Regions from separate parts of the Homo sapiens genome. Here region 2 is linked to region 1. Evidence: promoter capture Hi-C in 16 types of primary human blood cells and fetal thymus (Javierre and others, 2016). All regions are on one chromosome and are shown on one strand. The core of a region is centred on a gene start or on the middle of the fragment in contact, and the rest is flanking DNA. Distances in the headings are between cores, read along the strand shown. Region 1 holds the start of AK7 (adenylate kinase 7). Region 2 overlaps ATG2B (autophagy related 2B).

The links. The method cuts DNA at HindIII sites, captures the fragments that hold promoters and counts their contacts. A CHiCAGO score of 5 or more calls a contact.
Region 2: a fragment that was not itself captured here is called in contact with the fragment with the promoter of AK7 in region 1 in 1 of 17 cell types (erythroblasts); the score reaches 5.5 in erythroblasts.

The regions. Positions count from the first base shown.
Region 1 is chr14:96,388,587-96,393,493 of GRCh38, reverse strand. AK7 (adenylate kinase 7) reads right to left here and starts at 1,366. Exons shown (of 18, transcript NM_152327.5): 1 at 1,235-1,366. The coding sequence starts at 1,339. RefSeq lists a silencer at 1,297-1,806. The HindIII fragment of the contact is 12,427 bases long and covers 1-4,907 here.
Region 2 is chr14:96,329,814-96,334,733 of GRCh38, reverse strand. ATG2B (autophagy related 2B) reads left to right here. Exons shown (of 42, transcript NM_018036.7): 7 at 233-329; 8 at 861-1,046; 9 at 2,079-2,233; 10 at 2,324-2,429; 11 at 3,097-3,358. Among named protein-coding and RNA genes, the nearest start is that of ATG2B, 31 kb to the left of the region's middle. The HindIII fragment of the contact is 471 bases long and covers 2,868-3,338 here.

The DNA of each region.
Region 1 (4,907 bases), core at 117-2,616:
GAGCTTCCAGTAGAAACCAACCCTGCTGACACCTTGATCTTGGACTTCTGCCCTCAAGAACTGCGAGAGAATAATTTCTGTTTTATAAGGTCATCCAGTTTGTGGCAATTGGTTACCACAGCCCTAGAAAACTAATACAGATTGTACGTACTGTAGCCTCATCCTATTTTAAGCAGATTTGTCCTGTTCGAAAGTGCAGTCATTAGCCTCAGAGAAGTCTGTCCAGGGTGAGATTAGATTTCTCTGTAGCTCTAGAGGACAGAATTCAGATGGACGGGTCCTACCCACAGGGAATGATAAAATCATGGCTTTCTTTTGACAACTGATCATATTAGCATGAAGGGCCCCAGAGCCCTTTTTCTGAATATCTTCATTTTCCAGGGATAAAGACACAGAAAGGTGAGGAAACTTAATGGAACTCGGGGACCCAAACAGTGTCTGGTCCATAATAGATGCTCAAAAACCATATATTGAAGGGATGGATGAATGAAAAACGCTTCATGGGCAATATAAAAATTTGATTTACTCACGCCTGTAATCCCTTTTGGATTTACTCGGCCTGTAATTTGGGAGGCCGAGACGGGTGGGTCACGAGGTCAGGAGATCGATCGAGACCATCCTGGCTAACACAGTGAAACCCCGTCTCTGCTAAAAATACAAAAAATTAGCCGGGCGCGGTGTCGGGCGCCTGTAGTCCCAGCTACTCGGAGGCTGAGGCAGGAGAATGGCGTGAACCCGGGAGGCGGAGCTTGCAGTGAGCCGAGATCGCGCCACTGCACTCCAGCCTGGGCGACAGAGCAAGGCTCCGTCTCAAAAAAAAAAAATTGATTTATTTTCTCGTTTAGCTGCCTGCTTCAAAATCGATGGAAGGGTAGAAAGAGAACCTAGGAGGGGGCAAGAGACCTGGAGTCTCTGTCCAGGTTCTGGCCTCAACTCTCTATGTGATCTTGGGCAAGTCCCTGCCTCTTAGCCTCAGTTTCCCCTCATTAAAAGGAGGAACAGGGGATGGACCAGTGATTTCCAGACACCTGAGCTTCCATGTAGAATCTCTTGACCAGCCTGGGTGCGGACTGGGGTCCAGGGGGCATTGGTGGTGCCCAGGACGCGGGACCCTCCCTGAGGAAAGGCCCCGACAGCGCCCTGGGGCGCAGACCCTCGCTGGGTTTGCGGACCGGGGGCCGAGGGCTGGGAGCTGAGAGCTGGCGTGAGGCTCTGGGCCGCCGCCGCCGCTCACCTTCCCGATGTTTCCGCTGCTGTAGGAATCCAACAGGTTTATAAACACCCTCTGGGTCCGGATAACCTTCTCCGTGAGAGCAGCAGTTTCCTCTTCTTCAGCCATGGTGGGAGCCGCGCTGGTTGCTAAGGTGAAAGCGCCACTCGCTTGCCAAGGAGGCGGGGCCCGGGCCAGGGAGGCGGGGCAGGTTCTCTCTGGGGGCGGGGCCTTGGCTCCGGGCAGTTTGCCGGGCGGGGAGGGGCGTGTCGTGGGCGAAGCAGGGAGTGCCGGGCGGGGCGGTGCGTGTCGTGCCCGGCGCTAATCAGGGCGTGCCAGGCGGGACGGGGCAGGCTGTGCCGGTCGCTGGGCGGGGCGTGCCGGGTAGGGCGGGGCGAGTCGTGCCGGGGGGTTGGGCGGGGCATGCCGGGCAGGGCGGGGTGTGTAGTGCAGTGGGCTGGGCGGGGCGCGCCGGGCGAAGCGGGGCTCAGGGCTCGCAACTGCGCGCGCTGTCGGCTGCTGGGCGCCAGGCGGATGTCCCTGCGAGTGCTTTCCGCGGCGCCGCGCGTGCAGCCCGGGTCTCACCCTGGCTTGCTGCCCACTGGGAGCCCTTGGGCAGTGCATGGTTTCTTTCCGAAGCTCCCTGGGCGTCTGTCCCGGGGGGCCATGTGATTGCTGTGCCTTTTTAATCTCCATTGTTCGGAAAGTCTGGAAACACATCCCTGTGTCCGCTTGACCCGATGACTAAAAATAATGAGAATTCTGAAGAAGAGGGAATGGCCCACAGCCTAGGCCTCTCCCCGACACGTGGGAGTTACTCAGCACGCTCCCATGGGGTGGTCTGGCCGGGGCGACGGGACGTAAGCCTCAGCTGCGAAGAAAAGCTGTTGCCATGGAGTTTCGGGCTCCCGAACACCCGAGCGACGCTAGCGTGGTCCCGCCTTGCGGCAGGTGCGGCTTGGTCCGCCGGCTCAGCTCCCTTGGGGGTTGTTTCCAGACGCACGTTCCGGGAAGACCCCTGGTGTCGGCTGGGGGCGACCAGAGCCCGTAGGCGCCCGGGATTCGCTCACATTCACCAAGGGAAGAAATTTAGACTTGACCGTTCCACAAGAGATTATACATGCAGTTGCTGAGATAAATCCACAAATTAAAAGATAACATTCACCTCGGTGATCACTGGACCATAAAGGTTGTGGTGGACTAAGAATACGCAGTTCCCTTGGAATAGCCTGATCATATTGAACTGTTTTCATGCCTTAAGCATTAACTCCTTAAATGCAAATATTTAACACTTGCAGCAATTGTGTGTGCGTGGTTTCTTCTCGTTCTTTTTATTATTTTTAATAGAGACAGGGTCTCACTATGTTTGTTGCCCAGGCTAGTCTCTAACTCCGGAGCTCAAGAAACTCTCCTGCCTCGTCCTCCCAAAGTGCTGGTATTACAGGCATGAGCCACCACGCCAGCGTTCTTGTTCTTTTTATTTTTAATTTATTTTTTTGAGATGGAGTCTCGCTCTGTCACCCAGACTGGAGTGCAATGGCATAATCTCAGCTCACTGCAACCTCGCCTCCCGGGTTCAAGCGATTCTCCTGCCTCAGCCTTCGAAGTAGCTGGGACTACAGGCGCCTACCACCGTTCCCGGCTAATTTTTGTATTTTTAGTAGAGACAGGTTTTCAGCATGTTGGTCACGCTGGTCTTGAACTTCTGGCCTCAAGTGATCCACCCGCCTCGGCCTCTCAAAGTGCTGTGATTTACAGGTGTGAGGCACCCCACCTGGCCTTCTTCTTTTTAAAAAATACTGGTTGTTTCAAAAAACGGAGGTGGCCCAACATCTTCAGACAGCTTGGAGGCTCTGGGCTTTCAGGCACTCATGAGACTTGGCTTTGAGTTTCAGCTCTCCAGTGATTTGTGGGAGGCTGGGACCAATCTTTTAACTTTCCCTATGCTGTTAAATTGTCTGTAAAATAGGAGTGATACCACCAGCCTAACAAGGCTGTTAGGATTAAATAAGACATATGTGAAGCATTTTCTGAAGTGGTCGCCAAAGGTGAAATTATTGCTTTTTTTTCCTGCAAGGCTAAGGCACACTTGTACAGATGGGAGCCTTTATATTTCGTTTTTCTGTCCCCACCCCATTTTCTTTTCTATACATGCAACTCTCATTAAAACTTGTTTTGATAAACTAACGCTTTGAAGTTTTGCCAACTCAATTTGGGAACAGTTTGCTCATACCAAATTTATTATTTTTTTGAGATGGAGTCTTGCTCTATCCTTTAGGCTGGAGTGCAGTGGCGCGACCTCGGCTCACTGCAACCTCTGCCTCCTGGGTTCAAGCCATTCTCCTGCCTCAGCCTCCCCAGTAGCTGGGATTACAGGCGCGTGCCACCACACCCGGCTAGTTTTTCTATTTTGAGTAGAGAATGGGGGTTTCACCATTTTGGCCAGGCTGGTTTTGAACTCCTGACCTTGTGATCCACCCGCCTCGGCCTCCCAAAGTGTTGAGATTACAGGTGTGAGCCCCCAGGCCCGGCAATTTTTTGCTTTTCTTTAATCAACAAGAAAGTAATGTCAGTTTAAATGTAAAAGTATTCATGCAAAATTAGTGCAAAACTTAGAAAATATACTTCAGCATTCTTTCAAATGACTTACTAGTTCAACTATTCTAAAATTCACGATTCATTTTCAAATTTTTAGTTTATCTCTGCATTCCTTGTTGATATGCAGTTAAGCAGGTAAACACTTTGAAAGTTATTCAACCAGTCATGGTACAATGAAATATTTAACTTACCTGTTTCTTTCATGAAATGAGCTTGCCACAGTTACAGGGGGGATAGCTTCTAGATAATTTTATATATATTGGTAGGTTAAAAAAGGGGATTCTATTTTTTTTTTTTTTTGACATTGAGTCTCACTCGTCGCCCAGGCTGGAGTGCAGGGGGCAATCTTGGCTCACTGCAACCTCTGCCTCCCGGGTTCAAGCAATTCTCCTGCCTCAGCCTCCCCAGGAGTTGGGATTACAGGTGTGTGCCACCACACCCAGTTAATTTTTGCATTTTTAGTAGAGATGGTTTCACCATGTTGGCCAGGCTGGTCTCAAACTTCTGATCTCAGGTGACCCACCCACCTCAACCTCCCAAAGTGCTGGGATTACAGGTGTGAGCCACCACACCCAGGCCAGAGATTCTACTAATTCTAGTATACCAACTAACATGTTTGTTATTCTTTCCCTCTTTTAAAATCAGTTTTCGTATAAACACAAAATTAATGTGATGGTTTTTATTAACACGTACTGTATGGGGACAGCTGGCGGAGTCAGAAGACCTAGGTTCTGATCCAACTACACTGCTCACAAGCAGTTGCTGAGCAAGTCGCTCAATCTGTCTATCTCACCTGTATCATCCAGAAAATAAAGGGATTGGAAAGAAAGTTCTGAAGTCAATGTGGCACCTATCAGAATCTCAGTGTTTTCTTACTATGTTCCTCAACATTCAAACAGCACATTCTGTTTTTGAACACCGGGGAGAGAACAGCACAGTGTGCAATAGAAGAAGCTAATGATTGTAAGTACATTAGTAGCAGCCGAACCTGGAGGAAAGGTGGGAAGAGTGTCATCATGGGAAATGAGGTGTGCACTCTTCTCTTCATAATCATTCTGCCCTCTTCAAGGATCTGGGAGCAGATACAACTCAGCAAGGA
Region 2 (4,920 bases), core at 1,854-4,353, 60 kb after region 1:
TTGGACTCGTCAGCATGGAATTTCTCAGGAGGGTTTTTCCTTTTAGAACAACAGTTTGGTGGCCTTTAAGTCTTTTCATTTAGATGGTGTGAATTAGTAGAGAGAGTCTCAGATGAAGGACTCCAAGACTAAAGACTCAGTATTCATCTCAGTTCATTAAAATATACTGACGTTTATGGTGATAAGGTTATAAAGAATACTCCTCATGAATAGTTTTTTTTTTTCCCTTAAGTTGGATGTTGATGGACAGATAGACTCTATTCATCTACTCCTGTCACCAAGACAGGTGCACTTGCTTTTGGATATGTTGGCAGCTATTGCTGGACCAGGCAAGTATAATTCTGTTATTATATATACTTGTTACTTTTTTAAATTTTAAAAAACTTTAAAATATGTAATGTATGTACATGTAGGAAAGTCTATTATTTTTGAATATCTGAATTGAAAGAAGCAAATAAGAATGTTAAGTAGTAAAATTTGATTGGGTGTTTTGAATGTGTTACCATGGGACATATTCACTTCAGATTATGTGTGTCACATTCTTAACTTTTCTAAAATTGTTCTGACTTCTTTGGTTGGGGATAGTACTTCATACAATCGAGAAAGTATAATTCTTGAACACAGTAAGTGGTACACATTTTAAAATATTTTCAATGGCTTCTATCTATCAGCGATAAGATTTTGGGATTCCTGGCTAGTTGCTTAAAGCTGTTGCTTAGAGCTCTGACTCACTAAATAGCAGTGGTTTTGCACTGTGGTGTTAAGTTGCCATTGTTGTTCCATAAATGGGTTTTGGGAAAGAAATGCTTAATTAACTCCAAATTTAATTACTGTTTTGGTTTCCTTTTGTATGCTTATAGAAAATTCTAGCAAAATAGGGTTAGCTAATAAAGATAGGAAAAATCGACCCATGCAGCAGGAAGACGAGTATCGAATTCAGATGGAATTAAACCGGTATTATTTGAGAAAAGATTCCCTCTCTGTGGGTGTATCTTCAGAGCAAAGCTTTTATGAGACAGAAACAGCTCGTACACCTTCTAGCCGTGGTAAGCAACTCAAACTGTTGACACCAGAATCATATATTATAATCATAGATAAAATTACACTTAATTTTGGCTGCTGTGAACAGAAGTTTAGGAATGAAAGAACAAAAAGATCCACATTGTAAGAAATCCACAACTTTTAATTTACGATTAATCTAATCACAACATTACAGTAATGCACCAGCACATAGGTGCTATAGTATATTTTTTTGATTTTGATTGTGTAGTTTTGTTTTCTAAATGATTTAGTCTAAGGAAAACCAATTTATAAAAATGTAAATTTATGTGAAAGTTAAATTAGGTAGTTATATATTTTGTCAAATTATTATGTGCTCATGTAATGATTTCTAGATTAAGAAACTACTGAACTACTAAAGTTTAATAAGGAAACTTTCCTTTATTGATCTTTCCATCAGTTATATGTAAATAATGATCTCTACCCAGCTTACTTTACATTTATAGGTGTTTCACAATGTATAAATGCTAATAACATAAATAATATGGATCAATTTAAGTATGGAATGTTGGACAAAATAAGAAATCAAACCCTACTCAAAAAATTTTGGCCATAATAAACTTCATTTGCATGAGAGTAAAACAATTCCGAAAGAAGGAACTGAAATGTAAATGGAATTCCAAATAATGTTTTTGGCTCTGAATAAAAGAAATAACTGTATCCAGATGAAACTAGAGGTTGCAATATATTTATACTATTTTAATATCTGATTTTAATTCCTAAACTGGCATATCACATTAAAAATATACCAGGTAATACTACATTTATATATTTAAAACAAAAGAAAACATGTTCATCAGTAGGGTAGCTTCATTTTTTATTAATTTATATTGAGTTTTTACTATGCCATTAATATTTTGGACTCATAAATTACACCACTGTAAGTAACATAAAATTTGGGGCATCGCTGTATCTCATATAATCTGAAGGAAGAGGATTGTATTAACGTATATTAACTTACTTAAAAGACTTGAATTGGTGGGATTATAATACAAGTGACATAGTTTAATTCTCTCTAGAAGAAGAAGTATTCTTCTCCATGGCTGATATGGACATGTCTCATAGTCTCTCTTCTCTTCCACCCCTTGGGGACCCCCCAAACATGGACCTTGAGTTATCATTAACTAGTACATATACAAATACCCCAGCAGGATCTCCATTAAGTGCTACTGTGGTAAAGTATTACTTAATTTTTCTTCTAGACTGAAAAGTTGCTTCTAAAATTCTACACTTCATTCATGTGCTTAAAAAAAATCTTTTATAGCTTCAGCCCACTTGGGGAGAGTTCCTTGATCATCATAAAGAACAGCCAGTAAGAGGGTCAACATTTCCATCCAACCTAGTTCACCCAACACCTTTACAGAAGACATGTAAGTAAAAATAAGACATTTGTTGTTAGTTTCCGCTGGAATTTTTAAAATGCCATTCTACTGGTGCTTTTCTTTCTTTTTTTTTTTTTTCTGGTCTTGGCCATTTACAAAGTTCAGAAAGCAAAATGAACCATTGTTAAACAATTCACTGTGAAGTGTTTTAGAATAGTTGCTCATTTATTGTATTCTTTGTGTATTTAAATACTTAAATATTTTTAGTTAAAAGTACACTGTAAGTTTCATATTATTATTGCAGTTCAGGACCCTCAGTCAATCATGTGATTTTTGTTTCACTATTTACATTTTCCTTGGAAGAGAACCTCAGGTTTCTTTTCTGCAAAATTTAATTGATATAGACCCAAGGCTTAAAGGAAAATTTGGTGAGCAGTTTTTGGTTAATCTTGAGTTTTCCAGTATGTTTTTATTAATATAAAAGCTTGGTTTGTACATTTACTGTTGTCACGTACTCTTGTACTTTAGTACAAAAATCTTGGATGTAAGATGCAGCAAGATAGCAGTTGATTTTACTTAAATTAATTGTTTAATATCATTCAAACTGTTGTATGATCATCTGTTTTTTAAAGCTAATAAATGAGTAAATGTTTTATAATTTTAATAGTTTTATGTGTCAAATTTTATGTATATAATTTTAATACTTGTATTTTAGCTCTCCCATCTAGATCTGTTTCAGTGGATGAATCAAGGCCTGAACTTATTTTTAGACTAGCTGTGGGAACTTTTTCAATCTCTGTGCTTCACATTGATCCTTTATCTCCACCTGAAACGTCACAGAACCTTAATCCATTGACACCTATGGCAGTAGCTTTCTTTACTTGTATAGAAAAGATTGATCCAGCAAGATTTTCAACAGAAGATTTTAAGTCTTTCCGAGCAGTGTTTGCAGAAGCTTGCTCACACGATCACCTTAGGTAAACTCTCACATATGTATTAATGATCCTTTAAACTTCCACATATGCTAATGATCCTTGAAAAAGAACCACATGTGGACTTTTGTATCTGCCTATCTGCATTTGTTTTTCTAATTCACATTTTATTTGTAAATGAATGGAATGAGTGAAGTTTTCTTGCAGTGCTGCAAAGGTGTTTAGAATCTTTCATTCAGGTTATTTGGCATGCAGAATAACAGATCTAGATAATAGGAGTTTTCAAAGTGATCTCTTTAGTTCCCTGCCCAGCTCTTGTCAAGTTTCTTTAACCACATTTTGCCTTCATCCCTATTGACACCACTGCAGTCGTGAAAACAGTTCTTATTGTCACTGGCATTAGCAGAGATGACAGTGGTGATGAAAAATAAAATAATACTATTGGAACTGATCCATATGCCACTGGCCATGGGGTGGGAAACATTACCAAGGCTGATCCTGAAACTTGGATGCTACGTTTCAACTTCTGCTTAAGAAAAATCAAAGCTATCCAAATAGCCAGTGAGTGATCCTTTCATGGGTTGAGTCTTAACAGATGAGGAGATAATTGAATTTGTAATATAGTTGGTTTTTTTGTTTTGTTTTGTTTTTTGTTTTGAGACAGAGTCTCACTCCATCGTCCAGGCTGGAGTGCAGTGGCGCAATCTTGGCTCACTGCAACCTCTGCCTCTCAGGTTCAAGCTATTCTGCAGCCTCAGCCTCCTGAGTAGCTGAGATTACAGGCATGTGCCACCATGCCCAGCTAGTTTTTGTATCTTTAGTAGAGATGGGGTTTCACCATGTTGGCCAGGCTGGTCTCGAACTCCTGCCCTCCAGTGATCCACCTGCCTCGGTCTCCCAAAGTGCTGGGATTACAGGCGTGAGCCACCACGCCCAGCCTTTAGTATTGTTAACATGCAAACTCTGTTTTACAATTTTAATGTGAAAGTGATCTATAAATTGTTGAATGACATCTTATACGGTGGTTTAAACATATCATATATTAGTATTTTTAGAAAATACTTTGGGCGTTTATTTAATCTTTTTAACTTTTTTAAAGTATGAAAATTGATATGAAAAGTAGTTTTACACCTAATACAAGAAAAACTCTACAGGTTAGGATTATAGTATTTATACTCAAACTGTAAAAACATTTTGTTTTCTTCCACCCCCCTTTTTTTTTCTTGTATTTTTAAGAGAGATGGGGTTTCACCATACTGGCCAGGCTGGTCTCGAAGTCCTGACCTCAGGTGATCCGCCCACCTTGTCCTCCTCAAGTGCTGGGATTACAGGCATGAGCCACTGTGCCTGGACTTTTTTTTTTTTTTTTCCCATTTTTGACAAAGTTTCAAACATCTGCCAGTAGGAAAATAGAACAAAAGCGGCAGAAAATATAGGTAGACCTCATTTGGGCTTCACCGACTAAAGTTTTTGAAATATTGCATAATGTTTTTAGATAATTTTAAGAGACTATTTCATATATTTTACAGATCTGAAAGATTTTGCCTTTGCAATGTAAATTTTTAAATGTGGAAGACGAAGGGCAGTGTTGGGAAATAAACAGATCC